Regions from separate parts of the Homo sapiens genome. Here regions 2, 3, 4 and 5 are each linked to region 1. The links are contacts of gene promoters, found by promoter capture Hi-C in human tissues and cell types (Jung and others, 2019). All regions are on one chromosome and are shown on one strand. Each heading gives the region's core, a stretch centred on a gene start or on the middle of the fragment in contact. The rest is flanking DNA. Distances are from core to core; before and after follow the strand shown.

Region 1 (2,589 bases), core at 38-2,537:
AAGCGCGGCGAGGTGGCGGGAAGGGAGGCTGGGTGCAGCACAGCCGGCCTCTCCGCTGAGGAAGAGCTCCGGCTCCCTTTTGTTAGCAAAAGCAAACACTGCCCTCTTCTTTCCCGACCGCGCCAACGCGCCCGGCACACGGGCAGCCACACATCGGGCTCCAGCCGAGTGCTCGGTGTCTTCAGGGAAGGCACCGGGCGTGCAGAGCCGCCCCTGGGCAAATTCCCAAGACTGCTCTTCACGCAGGGAGCGCGCGGAGGCCCGCAGGGTGCCCGCCTGGCCGCAGAGGCCGCGACGCCCCCTCCGCCACCCTCGGGCCGCCGAAAGAACGGGCAGCCGGGAAATCCCGTGTCCCCACTCGTGGCAGAGGACGCTGTGGGGCGGGCGGGCTGCGGGCTCCCGGCGCCTTCCCGCAGAGGCGGCGACAGCGGCCGCCCCCCCCGCGGGGCCGGGCCGGGGAACTTTCCCCGCCTGGAGCCGGGCCAAAAAGACCCGCAGCAGAGCCGAGGGGGCGGAGGGCTGCGAACGGCCGGAGGGAAACACGAGAGGCGTGCAGTTTGGGGACAGGGGAGAAAGGCAGAGCGCGTTGGGGGAAGGGGCAGGGGAGATCAGACAAGTCTGGGGATGTCCTGGGGACCGGGGAGAAATCACGCCGCGGGCGGCTGGGAGTCAGCCACCAGGAGGCTTCGGGGATGGAGAACTGGGGGGGCCCTCTGGAGAGGTGGGGGCGAATGGACAGCCCTGGGAGGTGGGAGGACCTGCAAGTTACGGGGAGAACGGCGAGTTTAGAAGGGTCCGGAAGGGTTGAGGTTGTCTTTGAACCATCCCCTTCCCCCATGCTTTACAGCCCCCGGGCCCCCCATTCTCACTCCACTCTGCACCCCGCGCCAAGCCGGGGAGAGAAGGTGTGGGTGCAGCCATCCCTGGGGACTCTCATTCACACTTAGCCGGGCAGGGGAGAAGGGGCTCACAGATGCCCTCAGCCCCTTCCCTCTCAGCCCTGAGTTTCCTCTCCACACTCCCTCCGCTTCGGATGTAGGAAGTGGGGGGAGGTTGTCATGGAAACGTTTCCCCCCTCTGTGGCCAAGGCTACTGGGGTGCCTTCGGAGATTTAGGGGCCAACCGGTCGGTGCCCACACCTACCTGTGGGGATCAGTGCCGCGGCGGAGAAGAGCAACAGCAGAAGCCGGAGCCGGAGCCCGGGAGGCGCCGCCGCCGCCGCTGCCGCCGCACACTGGGATCCGCTCGGCAGCACTACACTCGCCATGTCGGGCACCTGCCTCAGACTGGCGGCGTTGGCTGCCTCCGGAGCCCGAGCGGACAGCTAATGAGATGCTAATGACATGCGCTGGAGGCGGAGTCCGGGCAGACCAATCACAGCGCCGCGAGCCCAACCCGGCTCTCGGAGGGCCTCGCTCCCTCCCCCACCCCGCCCCCTGGCGCTGGCGTTCGGCGGCGCGCCCGCGCCACCTAGGGGCGGGGCCAAGGGGAGGGGCGTATGCAAATATGTTTATGTTAAAATTCGGGTTTTGCTTTCCCCGGATCAAGGAAAAAGTGTTCTCCCGGGCGCCTGGCGTGCAAGGACTCGGGCTCCAGGGGGCGGGTCTAGCTTCTTGTACACCTTTATTAGGAATGTTTATAGCAATCGCTGTATCAGACCGACGACTGGAGAATCTCCCTTAAGAGGGTCCTCTGTCCCGCACACCGAGTGCATCTGGCCTAGCGAACCAGACGTTGCAAATTTCCGTCACTCACCTTGCACCGAAGGAATAGATCTTTGGGAACGGGGGCTGTGCGGGAGTGGAGAGTAAGAAGGCAGGTCCCCGGATTGACAAAACAATCTGGGAGAAGTGCATGCGTGCTTTGCACGTCCGGCGGAGCGGGAGAGCCCGCTCAACAGCCTAGCGGTAGACTCGGGGATAGTTGGAGAAGGCAGCCGTAGAGTCGGGTTCTGAGATTTTCCAGTCGGTCTTTTTGCGGCAGAATCTCGGGAAAGGTAGATCGAGGAGGGTATGCTCAGGCTCCTCCGCTTGTCGAGGGTCTCCTCCCTGGTTTTAATATATAGGTGTGTGTTGAATATATGTGTGAAATATTTGTAATATTAGATATTTAAGATTACACAACAACGGAAAAAATTAGTCAAGGCTTCAGGTGAAGAGCGGGGGTGGTGGGAGTTGGGGAGAGGGAGTGTGGTGAAGGCAGGGTCTGCCGTGTTCCTCCTTCGGGGCTCAAACCCTCTCACTCCTCCTCTGCGCCCCCAGCCCTTCCTAAGGAAGCTGGGGACCAACAGGTGCTCCGAGCTTCCCCTGTCTCTGGGAGAGCCTCTCCTGCTAAAGCGACTTGCATCTCCGGACTCACTCTCCCTCCCCGAAATTCTCTTTGCTTTCTTTTCAGCCAGGCAGCCGGCTCTCTTGTTTGTCTGCTTTTTAATTACTTATTTTCTTCCCCTCTAGAAGATCGTGTGCGCTCTGACCCTCTGTTGCTCAAGCATCAAATTGAAGGACGAGCCATATTAAGTGTAAAGGTTTATAATAATTTAAGTATTCATAGAATGCAGAACAATAAGATGTAGGAAATACAATTTGCATA
Region 2 (2,589 bases), core at 41-2,540, 220 kb before region 1:
CAAAGACACACAAGCCATCCATCTTAGAGTTTTATTGAAAATGTTTGTCTAGATTTAATAAGATCCTTCCAGTTCCTTGCTTTATTATTTTTTTTGGTAGACTCTTAATAAAAAGAAGAATTACTGAATAAGTAATGCTGATTACCATGAACCAAGTACTATGGTGATGTCTTATATGGATTATCTTTTTGCTATCGTCACAGTAATCCTATGGGATAGGTTCAGTGAGTAATCTTATTTTGCAGATGAAGAAAATGAGTGGTTATGTAACATGCTTAAGGAAGCACAGCCAAACTGGTACCCAAGCCAGGATTCAAACCCAGCTGCATCTACCCTATGGCTGGAACCTTTAGCTTCCAGGATATTATCTTGTACTTTTGAAAATGTGACGTGATGACCTAGATACATGATTATGAGTAAATGTAAAGGTCAGACCTCATTATTTAAATATGAACACAATATAAGAGGCATCTTAAGTTCTGACGACACTATAGTTAGCAACTTGGGTTCACAATCACCAGTGCATTCTTATCACAACACTATAAAAACATAGCCCAGAATGCCCACAGCTTTGTTCCCTCATTCATTTCTAGGAAAGTGTTGGCAATTTGCTCTCTGGGGAGCTGTGATGGGAGGACCAATGGTTCTCCTAGGGTGTTGTTAGAGGAGACAGATGACCAAGGCAGCTCTCCATGGAGGCTGCATTTTGGGTTTCTGGTCAACACATCTTCATACACCAATCGCCTTAAATGGTCAAAGTAGCTGAGACAAGAAGGACTATGAATTAGGGAACAGTCAGGATCTTGGCAATTATTTACAGGGGATGGAAGAGGTTATAAATGGGGACATGCTTATATTAAAATGGAAACGAAAGCTAAGTGGGGTTAAGAAAAAATCCAGGGTTTATAGTAAAATACAGTATTCTACAGAGCATAGAAATTACTGGCCTTTAACGTACACCAAGGCAAATGGCCCCATGAATCCATCTTTAGCCTCTCTGTGGGCTGAATTATGCTCCACACGATATACTAAAGACAGCCATGAACAGCTTTTATAGCTTTGATGAATGGCTTTTTAGTTTAGGTTGCATTATGAGAACAAAACAAGTGGTTGTGAATCATAACATTTTATGGGTCTGCTGCTTCATATAGTTTTCTAAAATTAAGCCTCTAAATTATATTCTGCCCTCATTAGGAAAACAGTCCCTGAAAGAGGAAAGCATTTTAGAGGCTACGCAAAAAGAGGTGATGGTAGATCTGTGCCTGGAGAGCCTGAAGTATAATTAAATCGATGGGAGCTGAGGAAGAAAGGATAGGTTGGTAGAAGGAAGTCATGTTGCTGCCCAAGAACCCAGGGCCAGAAGACAATGACTATAATCAGCTGGAGTTCACTGCCCCTAAGCAAACAAGGTTCAGAGGCCAGCCATTTTCAAATTATAGAAGGTATTGGAAGGAACGCAGTGAGGGGAAGTCATCCCTGTGTAAAGCCACAGAGGTGGAGGGAAGGGAAGAGGGTCTAAGCAAATCAGTGAGTGTTTACTGAGTATTTACCATCCACTGAGTGCTGTTTAAGACCCTATAGGGTTTAAAAAGGCAGCATAAAAATAAAATGAAGTCCATTATCCTCAAAGTAGTTACCATCCAGCCAGGGAGATAACAGACAGAAAGAAAACAATGCAAGGCAGCAAAAAATTAAATGCCAACTTCCCTGGAAGCTACTAAAGCCACGCCAGACATTCAGGGCAAAGTGGGATCGGTGCAGAAGACTAGGCAAGGTCTGGGCAAGGCTCCCACAGGGCCCTGTGCCACCTGTCGTAGTGTCTACCATGCTGCTGTAAAGGCCTGGCCTTGCTTACAAGTCCCCACTACACTGTGAGGTCTCAGTACAGAGGCTTGCCCACCTTGTTCAGCGTGGTATCTCCAGTGCTCAAATGTCTCTTGAATAGGACTGAATGCAATGGACAAGTGAAGAAAAGCTTTAAGGGATCGGGTCCTAGACTTGCTCCTGAAAAATGGTAAAATTATTGAGGCTGAAAGTGGCGTTCCAGGCAGGGGGGCCTGTGAGAACCAGGGTGAAGATCTACAAGCCCAGACACTCTCTCTCTCTCTCTCTCTCTCTCTCTGTGTGTGTGTGTGTGTGTGTGTGTGTGTGTGTGTGTGTGTATGGTGAGGAGGCAGAGAAAGCAGACGTGGGCAGACAAGAGAAGCACTTGTAGTTTGAAGACTTTCTGCTCCTAGAAATGGGTCAATTATTTTGTGGCCTAGAGATGATCCAGTATTACATTATTACTAACAAAAATAGATGTGAATTATTTTAATACTACTACTGTCGATGTTGTCTGTTGCCAGCAGAAATAATTCCCACACACAGCACAAGAGAAGGGAACAATAGGCTAGCCAGTCCTTTACTAGAATAATGCTCCCGGCTTCCATTTCTTTTCAATAGATTTTCATGTCAGTTTCACTGCTCTACTTTACCAATTATTTAAAGGTTATAGTCAGTCAGACAAGGTTTGTCTAAAAAAAAAAAACAGAAAGGAAAAACGTAAGAGGAAGATAGTTTTCAAAAAGGAATAAAGCACATTCATGA
Region 3 (2,589 bases), core at 37-2,536, 200 kb after region 1:
TCTTTGTATTCATGTGTACACAATGTTTAGCTCCCAGTTACAAGAGAGAACATGTGGTATCTGGTTTTCTGTTTCTATGTTAATTCACTTCGGAGAGTGACCTCCAGCTGCATCCATGTTGCTGCAAAGGATCTAATTTCCTTCTTTTTAATAGCTGTGTAGTATTCCATGGTGTAGATGTACCACATTTTCTTTATCCAATCCATTGTTAACGGGCAACTGGGTTGATTCCACATCTTTCCTATTGTGAATGTGCTGCCATGAATATACAAGCGCAGGTGTCTTTTTGGCAGAACGATTCCTATTTATTTGGGTATATACCCAGTAATTTCTATTCCTTTGGTTATAGACCCAGTTCGCTTGCTAGGTGAAATGGTAATTCTATTTTTAGTTCTTTGAGAGATCTCCAAACTGCTTTCCACAGGGGCTGAGCTAATTTGCATCCCCACCAACAGTGTATACTCGTTCCCTTTTCAGAAAGTATTTTCAAGTTTGTCAGACTGGGGACACTGTGTTCTTTTCTACAATTGGCCCCCGAAGTGAAAAGCCCCTAGTAGAAGTTTCTCTGGGCAGTTCAGTCTCAGGAAGTCCCTCTCCCATGGCTCCATGCCCCTTCCCCTGGGCATGGTGTCCCTTTGCTTTTCTTGTCTTTCCCAGACTCTTCGTCTGCCAGCCCTACCCTGAGCTCCGAAGTCACAGTCAGTTGGGGCTGGTGAAGGTGGGGAGGAGCCTCCAGCACTGGCCATCCTCCTGGCAGGGGCGCTTTCCCACAGCACCCTTCTATTCTGTATGGCTTGGCTTTTGCAGTGACACGTTGAAGACCATCATTGCTGTTTATTGAACACTTGGTGCTCTTCTGAGTGTCTCACTGCACAGATTCATTTAATCCTCACAAGAATCTGGTAGCATGTTCATGGTTCGCATTTTACTGACAAGAAAATGGAGGCATAGCAAGATGGAGTCACTCATCCAGGCCCACAGCCTGCAAGTGTTGGAGACAGGATGTGAGCTTCAGCAGTCTTGAGTGCCCAAGAGTACTCTTCCTTTCTGGTACTGAATGCCGGGGACATTTAGTAGTGATTTTTTTTTTTTTTTTTTTTTTTTGGCAGGCTGGCCTAGGAAACTTTCTGCTGTGAATAACACAGCTCTACATGCCAAGTTCCAAGCAGCTGACGTATTAATGAGCATAGCTGTGGCCTGCCTGCTCTTTTGTGTCCCCCTCAGAACTTGAACAAAAGACATGCTCCATGGGTGTTGGGTGGGTGGTTGATTGATTGAATTTTTTACCCACAGGAAGCTCCACTGGCTTCCACAGCTTCTGAGGTTGGAGAAAGGAAGGAGGGAGGGAGGCGTGGTGGTCTATGTGAACAGGTTCCTCTCCATCGGCAGCTTAGTCCTGGGGTGCATGCTGTGCCTCCTTCTTGGGTAGATTTTTGGGGCAGACGCTATGGATTCCTGTGAAGTTGGTGAAGCAGATCCACACTGAACTCCCTTTCAACCTGGTGGACCCCTCATTCTTTTCTTTCAGCCTGAGGACCTGGCAGCCTCTGAAAGCACGTCTGCAGAACATGCTGAATAGGCCAGTGCCCACGGGAAGATAGTCCTTAGGGCTAGCTAGCTGCTGTACTCACTTTCCTAGGATGGCTGTGGGTTGGAGTTCATGGGTCTCCCAGGCTTCTTAGAGACAGAAAGAGCAAACCAGAGAAAGCTTGACTCCAGTGCCCAACCTAGGAGGAGGTCAGGCAGTATAGAGAGACACACAGGTTAGCTGACAGACATTTCAGATCTACCTCAGGCTCAAGATGCCACACCTGCTGTTACTTGTCCAGGGAGTCAGCCCTCGAGATGCCCCCTGTGGGGAGACCTCAGAGGGTGGGGAGACCAGAGGGAAGAACGGGAGGAGGGGGAAGAAGATGTCATGTACTGAACTGAGAACACTCAGGGAAATAAAGGATCTATTTTTTTCAATTTGTTCTCAGCAAACATTTGTCATTTAATTTCTTCCTAATTACACAATTACGTAATTATGTAGTATTAGTAAAATAAAGCCTAAAGACGTTTGAGTAAAGAATTACTTAAGTAAATAATGTCTGACTGAAGTAATTATTTCCAGGGTTTTCTTTTTTAAAGGAGAATGGGATAGAATTAGTTCAGGCATTGTTGCAGGGCTGCATGGGGGTTTGGGGTGCCGCACAGCTGGGGGCAGCTACGAGGCTCCGTTGCCCACTGGGGTCCAGCTTCTTGGCAGCTTCCTTTCTCTGTGGCTGAGGCTCTGATGGCAAGTTCCAACCCTGCTATTGGCTAGGTGGCTTGGGAACTGACTTCTCCTTTGAGTCTCACTTGGCCCTTCAGAGAGGGAATTCCTGGCTCCAGTGGGTGGGGAGGACTGGGGTGGTCGAAGGAGACTTTGGGCAGAAGTAAGTCCTCAGTGACTAAGGGCTGTGCCTCAGCCACACCAAGTTTACCAAGAGGCAGCTATGGGTGAGCCCACCACATGCAGTGATAAAGAGTTCACCCACCAGCTGTACCAGCAAGTGCCTCGGTGGTAATGTGGTGGCAGTGATGCGTTGGATGGGAGGGTAGACCTCG
Region 4 (2,589 bases), core at 61-2,560, 150 kb before region 1:
GGGAGAGGTGGAAAGCCAGGGAGAGAGGAGGTGCCCTGTAGAAATCCTAAAAGTGCTTTGCCTCACTATCTGAGAGCCTATGACCATTCTTTTTTTCTTTTTTTTTTTTTTAATAAAAACCACAACATATTTAGGTCATATATATTTAAACATCAAATAGGAATACACAATAATTAAGAAAATGGCTAGCTGGCTAATTTATTCTGAGTTTGTCCCATACTAACTAAAAAAAAAAATTAAATCTATATAAAACGAAACAATGCTTATGAATTAAACACTGTATTTCATGCCTTAAAAGAACTTAGCGCATTAGCAATTAGCATTTTCTTTGTTTTGAATTCATTGAATTTATATCATCCTTCAACACTGTTTAGCTAAAGCAAACAAAAACAAGAAAATCACATTATTCTTTCTAAGCCATATAAAAGTGATCTGGAAAGTCACGTTTAAAATCGCTATCATGGATTAGCTTAAGGCAATTATTTCACTTGCCGCATTCTTTTACGAGAAGTTAAAAAAAAAAAAAAAAAGTCAAGCTTCTTGCCTAACAAGAAAAATGAAATCCCATTAGTTGTGTTTCCAGTGTATATTAACATTCCTTTTGTTTAGAAAGGTTAATATCCCCCAAATAAAGGAGCATACAGTGCCTGTTAAAATAATTACATCATGACATTTTAGAAAGGTTGGCAGATAGACATGGTTGCAAAAGCAAGGAAACAAACAAAAAAAAGTAAAAGCGAGTAGTTTTTAAATTATCTGTGACTTCAAAAAATGAAAAAGACTGGAAATTCCACCATGTTTGCAATTTCCTGCCACCTTGTCTGGTCTCTGGTATTTGGCTTTTCTCCTTCTTCTTCAATATCTTTCTGTCATAGAAACTTAGGAAGACGTACCTTCATGCTCTAAATCAGATGATCTACTATCTGAAAAGGAAACGACAAATCTGACAACAAAAGAATTTCACAACAGATAGGCAGTTGATAGCATGAGGCACTAACATTAAACCCAAGTCTTTCAATGGCCACTTGGAGTCCCAGGGTACAGAATTTGGTGTCACGATAAAAGAATAATTTTTGTATTCTAGCAAGCTGATCTAAGAGCCCAACATCAGTAAGACTGAAATCAGCGAGCAATGAAGTCTTCAGATTCTCCCCTATAAGACCTAGAGAAAACACTTCAAATTGTATGCAAACAAAATACAGAACTCTGGCCCTAATGCTTGAGGCAGAGAGAAGCAATTCTCCAGATATGTAAAATAAATTATTAATCTTTTAAACCTCTGGACACACAGAAAACATTCTCTTAATCAAAAATAGGCACAGTAGTAATATAAAACCTAACCAGCATGCTCTTTCTCATTCTCTAGGGCATAGGAGCCCCTCTGCAGCTCTGGAATTGGACGGCCTCTTCCTGCACTGCTCCCAAGAAAGTAGTGAATGAAGTAGGCAAGACAAAGATGAGGAGGAAGAAAGACAATGGTTTTCCTCACCACCACTTAAACCATAGGAAGCTTCCTCAGTTAATGACAGCTCAACCTCTGGACAGCAGGTCAGAGAAGCTAATTGAACAAGTACTTTAGGAGTTTATTAATATTCCCAAAAGTCATAGACTGCTTTACATCCGCAATTCCCAATAATGCCAATAACAAATTGTGCAGATGTAGTGATGAAAACACCACTGCCTTAAGAGTCTAAAAAAAGAATCCAATAAAATCAAATTAAAAGCCCCCAAGTTACCATAACAAAATCTCTGAAACTGTATAAATCTACTAAAGGGAATTCAGTGCAACATCTCACCTGACAGTTTCATAACAAAATTGTGACGGAAAGTCTGTCCCAGTTCTATACAAAAGTGGAGTACTGATCCCTTTGGCAGAGGGCTTGTCAGCACGGAATGATGATTCTAAGTCCCCATCTGATGCAGATATAGTGCCCTGCATTTAAGAAGCAATCCTCACGCACTTGTGCAAGAATGAATGAATGAACCAATGCATGGCTTACATGGAATAGTCTTCTAAAACAATCTCTAACACATCTAAACTGATATTTTTATATAACTGTCACAGGCTATGCAGAGTGCTGGATAAAATAGAGGAAATATTTTCTTTTCCCAGAAGCCAGCTAAGAGCTCATCTCCAGGAAAAATATTACAGGATGAGCAAAGTAAATTCCTTTCTCTTCCATATTCAAAGAATATGTGTTTCTTAGTAAAACAACAGAGAAGACTTAGGAAGAAGAAGAGGAGGAGCAGGAGAAGGTAGAAAAAACACAGCATTGTACAGTGATGGGCACTGTTTTTAGTATTTTTGTGTATTTTACACTAATTGGCTTAATCCTCACCACTGCCATATGAAATAGATATTATTATTATTATCCCCATCTTGCAGTCGAGGTAAGACAGAGGTAAGTTTCACTCAGCTAGTGCCTGTCACAGCCAGATTTCCAGGCCAGGCAGTACAGCTCCATAGTATTCCACGGTGTATATGTACCACATTTTCTTCATCCAATCTGCCACTGATGGGCATTTAGGCTGATTCCATGTCTTTGCTATTGTGAATAGTGCTGCAGTGAACATATGCGTGCATGCGAA
Region 5 (2,589 bases), core at 65-2,564, 130 kb before region 1:
TAAAAGATTATCAAAATTAATGTGGTTAAATTTTTAACCAAAGTCTGATCTTATGGTGTAGTCATTTCCAGGCTAATTAACTTCTTTTTCACCTATTATCAATACAAATCAATTAGAAGCTAAATGTTCAGATATAGATCTATAGTCTACTCTAAGAGAGAGAAGTGATAAAATGACCAGCCAGAGTCAAATTTTAGAACTCTGAATGCAGAAACAAGAACAAGGAAAACACTGGAACTCTCAGGTGAGCATGGATGAAAGAAGGCATAACCTAAACCAGGCCTGGATCTGCAGAAGTATTCAAGATGGGCCCCAAAGGCTTGTGAATTCAGGTATGCACCTGTTACTCCTTTGATTGTCAATTAACATTTCTGCCTAAGAGGAAAGAAAAGGAACAAGGGTACAAGGACATAAATTGCTCTGATATTTTATCAAATGCAGAGTTGCCTTTAAGCAAATCTACTCCAGTACCAGGCATTCTGCTCAAAGCAATGAGGGAGGATTCTCTCTCTGGCCTTGGGCAGAGCCTTAGTTGTGAGGTTCACCTGTATTTTAGCATTTCAAGCGGTCAAAGATAACTGCAGCCTGGCTTTCACAGAAGTGAAATAACTCAACTTTACTGTCAGATGCACAGACCAATGAGTTAAACAAGAAAAGAATTCAGATTGTACACAGGTGGCTCATCAAGAATATGGTCAACCTTGGCCAGGCGCACTGGCTCATGCCTGTAATCCCAGCACTTTGGGAGGCTGAGGCAGGTGAATTACTTGAGGTCAGGAGCTCTAGACCAGCCTGGCCAACATGGCAAAACACCATCTCTTCCAAAAATAAAAAAAGTAGCAGGGTGTGGTGGTGCACGCCTGTAGTCTCAGCTGCTCCGGTGGCTGAGGCGTGAGAATTGCATGAACCTGGGAGGTGGAGGTTGCAGTGACCCAGATCATGCCACTGCAGTCCAGCCTGGGTGACAGAGCAAGACTCTGTCTCAAAAAAAAAAAAAAAAAAAAAAAAAGAAGAAGAAGAAGAAGAAAGAATGTGGACAATCAACAAAGAAAAGGGGGATTCTAAGAAGAAAATGGGAGGTTCCATTTAAGTATCTATAACATAAAATAGTTCGTAAAAAATAGATCAGTGGTTCTCATCCTTGGGTGAGTATCAGAATCACCTGTGGAAATTGTTAAAAATGCAGATGCCAAGCTTTACCTCCCAGAAACTACTGTGCGTATGATGTATCCCAGTTTAAGAATCTCCAATGCTGGTGTCAGGATTTTTCACATGCATGAATGAAAACACAAATACATGATTTTAAGTGAAAGCTACGTAGTCTTGAATTTGAATTGGAAGAGTCAAAATGGAGTCCTTATACATTTTATCTTTAAGACAACAACAATACATTGCCTAGTTCTGTACACTAAAAAGATCTAAAAACAGTGACCTATCCAGTAGGAATAAGCACATCCCAGGGACCAGAGTATAGTTTCTAATTTTCCACTAAAAGAAATGAGCTTCTAGGAGAAATAGCTGATTCCAGGTTTGAGGCAAGAACAAAACAAAACAAAAAACCTTCTAAGATGAGCCTGGAATATCTTATCGCAACCAGAAAAGGATATTAGCAAAGATTCTGGGGTCATAATAAAAGAGTCTTCCACTAGCCAAAAGCAGGATAATTTGAGCATCAGTAAGAATAATAATTGAATGGATTGAAGCATGTTTAACCCTATAAATTCAAAATAATACTAAAGCAAAACAAAACTTTCATAAATACCTTTGAAGGGTGCTGAGAACCAACTAATTATTTTGAAAATCAGTAAATAAAGGTAAAGAATCAGTCATTTGTCTGGCCATTCTATGTATATTGCACTTAAGTTAAATGATAAGGGGAAGTTTCTCTTTATGAAGGAATGGCAGAATAAGATCCTCACCATTTTGCAGCCCTCACTGAAAGAATAAATCTACGCAGTGATCTTCAAATGGTTACTGACATCACATGCATACAAAAAGGTACAGACATTATATACCTACCTATGAAGTATTCTTACCCTTTATACCCTCCCATACCCCAAAAAAGAAAAGTAAGCCTGAATCTCATAGACTTATTTGACTAATAAGAAATAAAAAAATTTTTAAAAAACATGTTAAACAACATCAGGAAGACATAATAAGCAAAATCAGACTGTGGGCAATTATGGGACAAGCAGTCCAGTTTCTTAAACTTCGAGGGAGAAAAAAGGGATGAAGAAGCTATAGGCTAAGAAAAACTTGGCGTGCTAATCAAGTAGTTATACTCACGGACTTCATTTGACTCTTGACTCAACAAATAAAAAGGTTTTTTTCAAAGTAATAATAATATAAGGCAATTACAGAATTTTAATACTGCCTGGATATTGTTGGTACAAAAGTATTTAGGTAAGAAAATATTATTGTGGTTATCTTTTTAAAAAAGAATCCCTGTCTTTTAGAGATACATACTGAAATCTTGATGGAAAGATAGTACAATGTCTATAATTTTCTTTAAAATGATCCATGGTTGGGGGAGTGGGTGAGATTACAGGTGAAATAATATTGGTCATGAGTTAATAACTGTTGAAGTTG

The links. The method cuts DNA at HindIII sites, captures the fragments that hold promoters and counts their contacts. A contact is called where the count stands out against the background at its distance.
Region 2: a contact is called between a fragment that was not itself captured here and the fragment with the promoter of CADM1 in region 1, in 1 of the 25 tissues and cell types used here (heart left ventricle).
Region 3: a fragment that was not itself captured here is called in contact with the fragment with the promoter of CADM1 in region 1 in 1 of the 25 tissues and cell types used here (heart right ventricle).
Region 4: a fragment that was not itself captured here is called in contact with the fragment with the promoter of CADM1 in region 1 in 4 of the 25 tissues and cell types used here (IMR-90 fibroblasts, bladder, dorsolateral prefrontal cortex and 1 more).
Region 5: a contact is called between a fragment that was not itself captured here and the fragment with the promoter of CADM1 in region 1, in 1 of the 25 tissues and cell types used here (H1 embryonic stem cells).

The regions. Positions count from the first base shown.
Region 1 is chr11:115,503,128-115,505,716 of GRCh38, forward strand. CADM1 (cell adhesion molecule 1) reads right to left here and starts at 1,288. Exons shown (of 12, transcript NM_001301043.2): 1 at 1,144-1,288. The coding sequence starts at 1,267. RefSeq lists a silencer at 1,314-1,473. The HindIII fragment of the contact is 7,329 bases long and covers 1-2,589 here.
Region 2 is chr11:115,281,994-115,284,582 of GRCh38, forward strand. The region is part of intron 1 of CADM1 (cell adhesion molecule 1); the gene reads right to left. Among named protein-coding and RNA genes, the nearest start is that of CADM1-AS1, 110 kb to the right of the region's middle. The HindIII fragment of the contact is 6,448 bases long and covers 1-2,589 here.
Region 3 is chr11:115,698,818-115,701,406 of GRCh38, forward strand. The region is part of intron 2 of LINC02698 (long intergenic non-protein coding RNA 2698); the gene reads left to right. Among named protein-coding and RNA genes, the nearest start is that of LINC02698, 41 kb to the left of the region's middle. The HindIII fragment of the contact is 4,913 bases long and covers 1-2,589 here.
Region 4 is chr11:115,350,413-115,353,001 of GRCh38, forward strand. The region is part of intron 1 of CADM1 (cell adhesion molecule 1); the gene reads right to left. Among named protein-coding and RNA genes, the nearest start is that of CADM1-AS1, 45 kb to the right of the region's middle. The HindIII fragment of the contact is 3,162 bases long and covers 1-2,589 here.
Region 5 is chr11:115,372,600-115,375,188 of GRCh38, forward strand. All of the region lies in intron 1 of CADM1 (cell adhesion molecule 1), which reads right to left. Among named protein-coding and RNA genes, the nearest start is that of CADM1-AS1, 23 kb to the right of the region's middle. The HindIII fragment of the contact is 3,741 bases long and covers 1-2,589 here.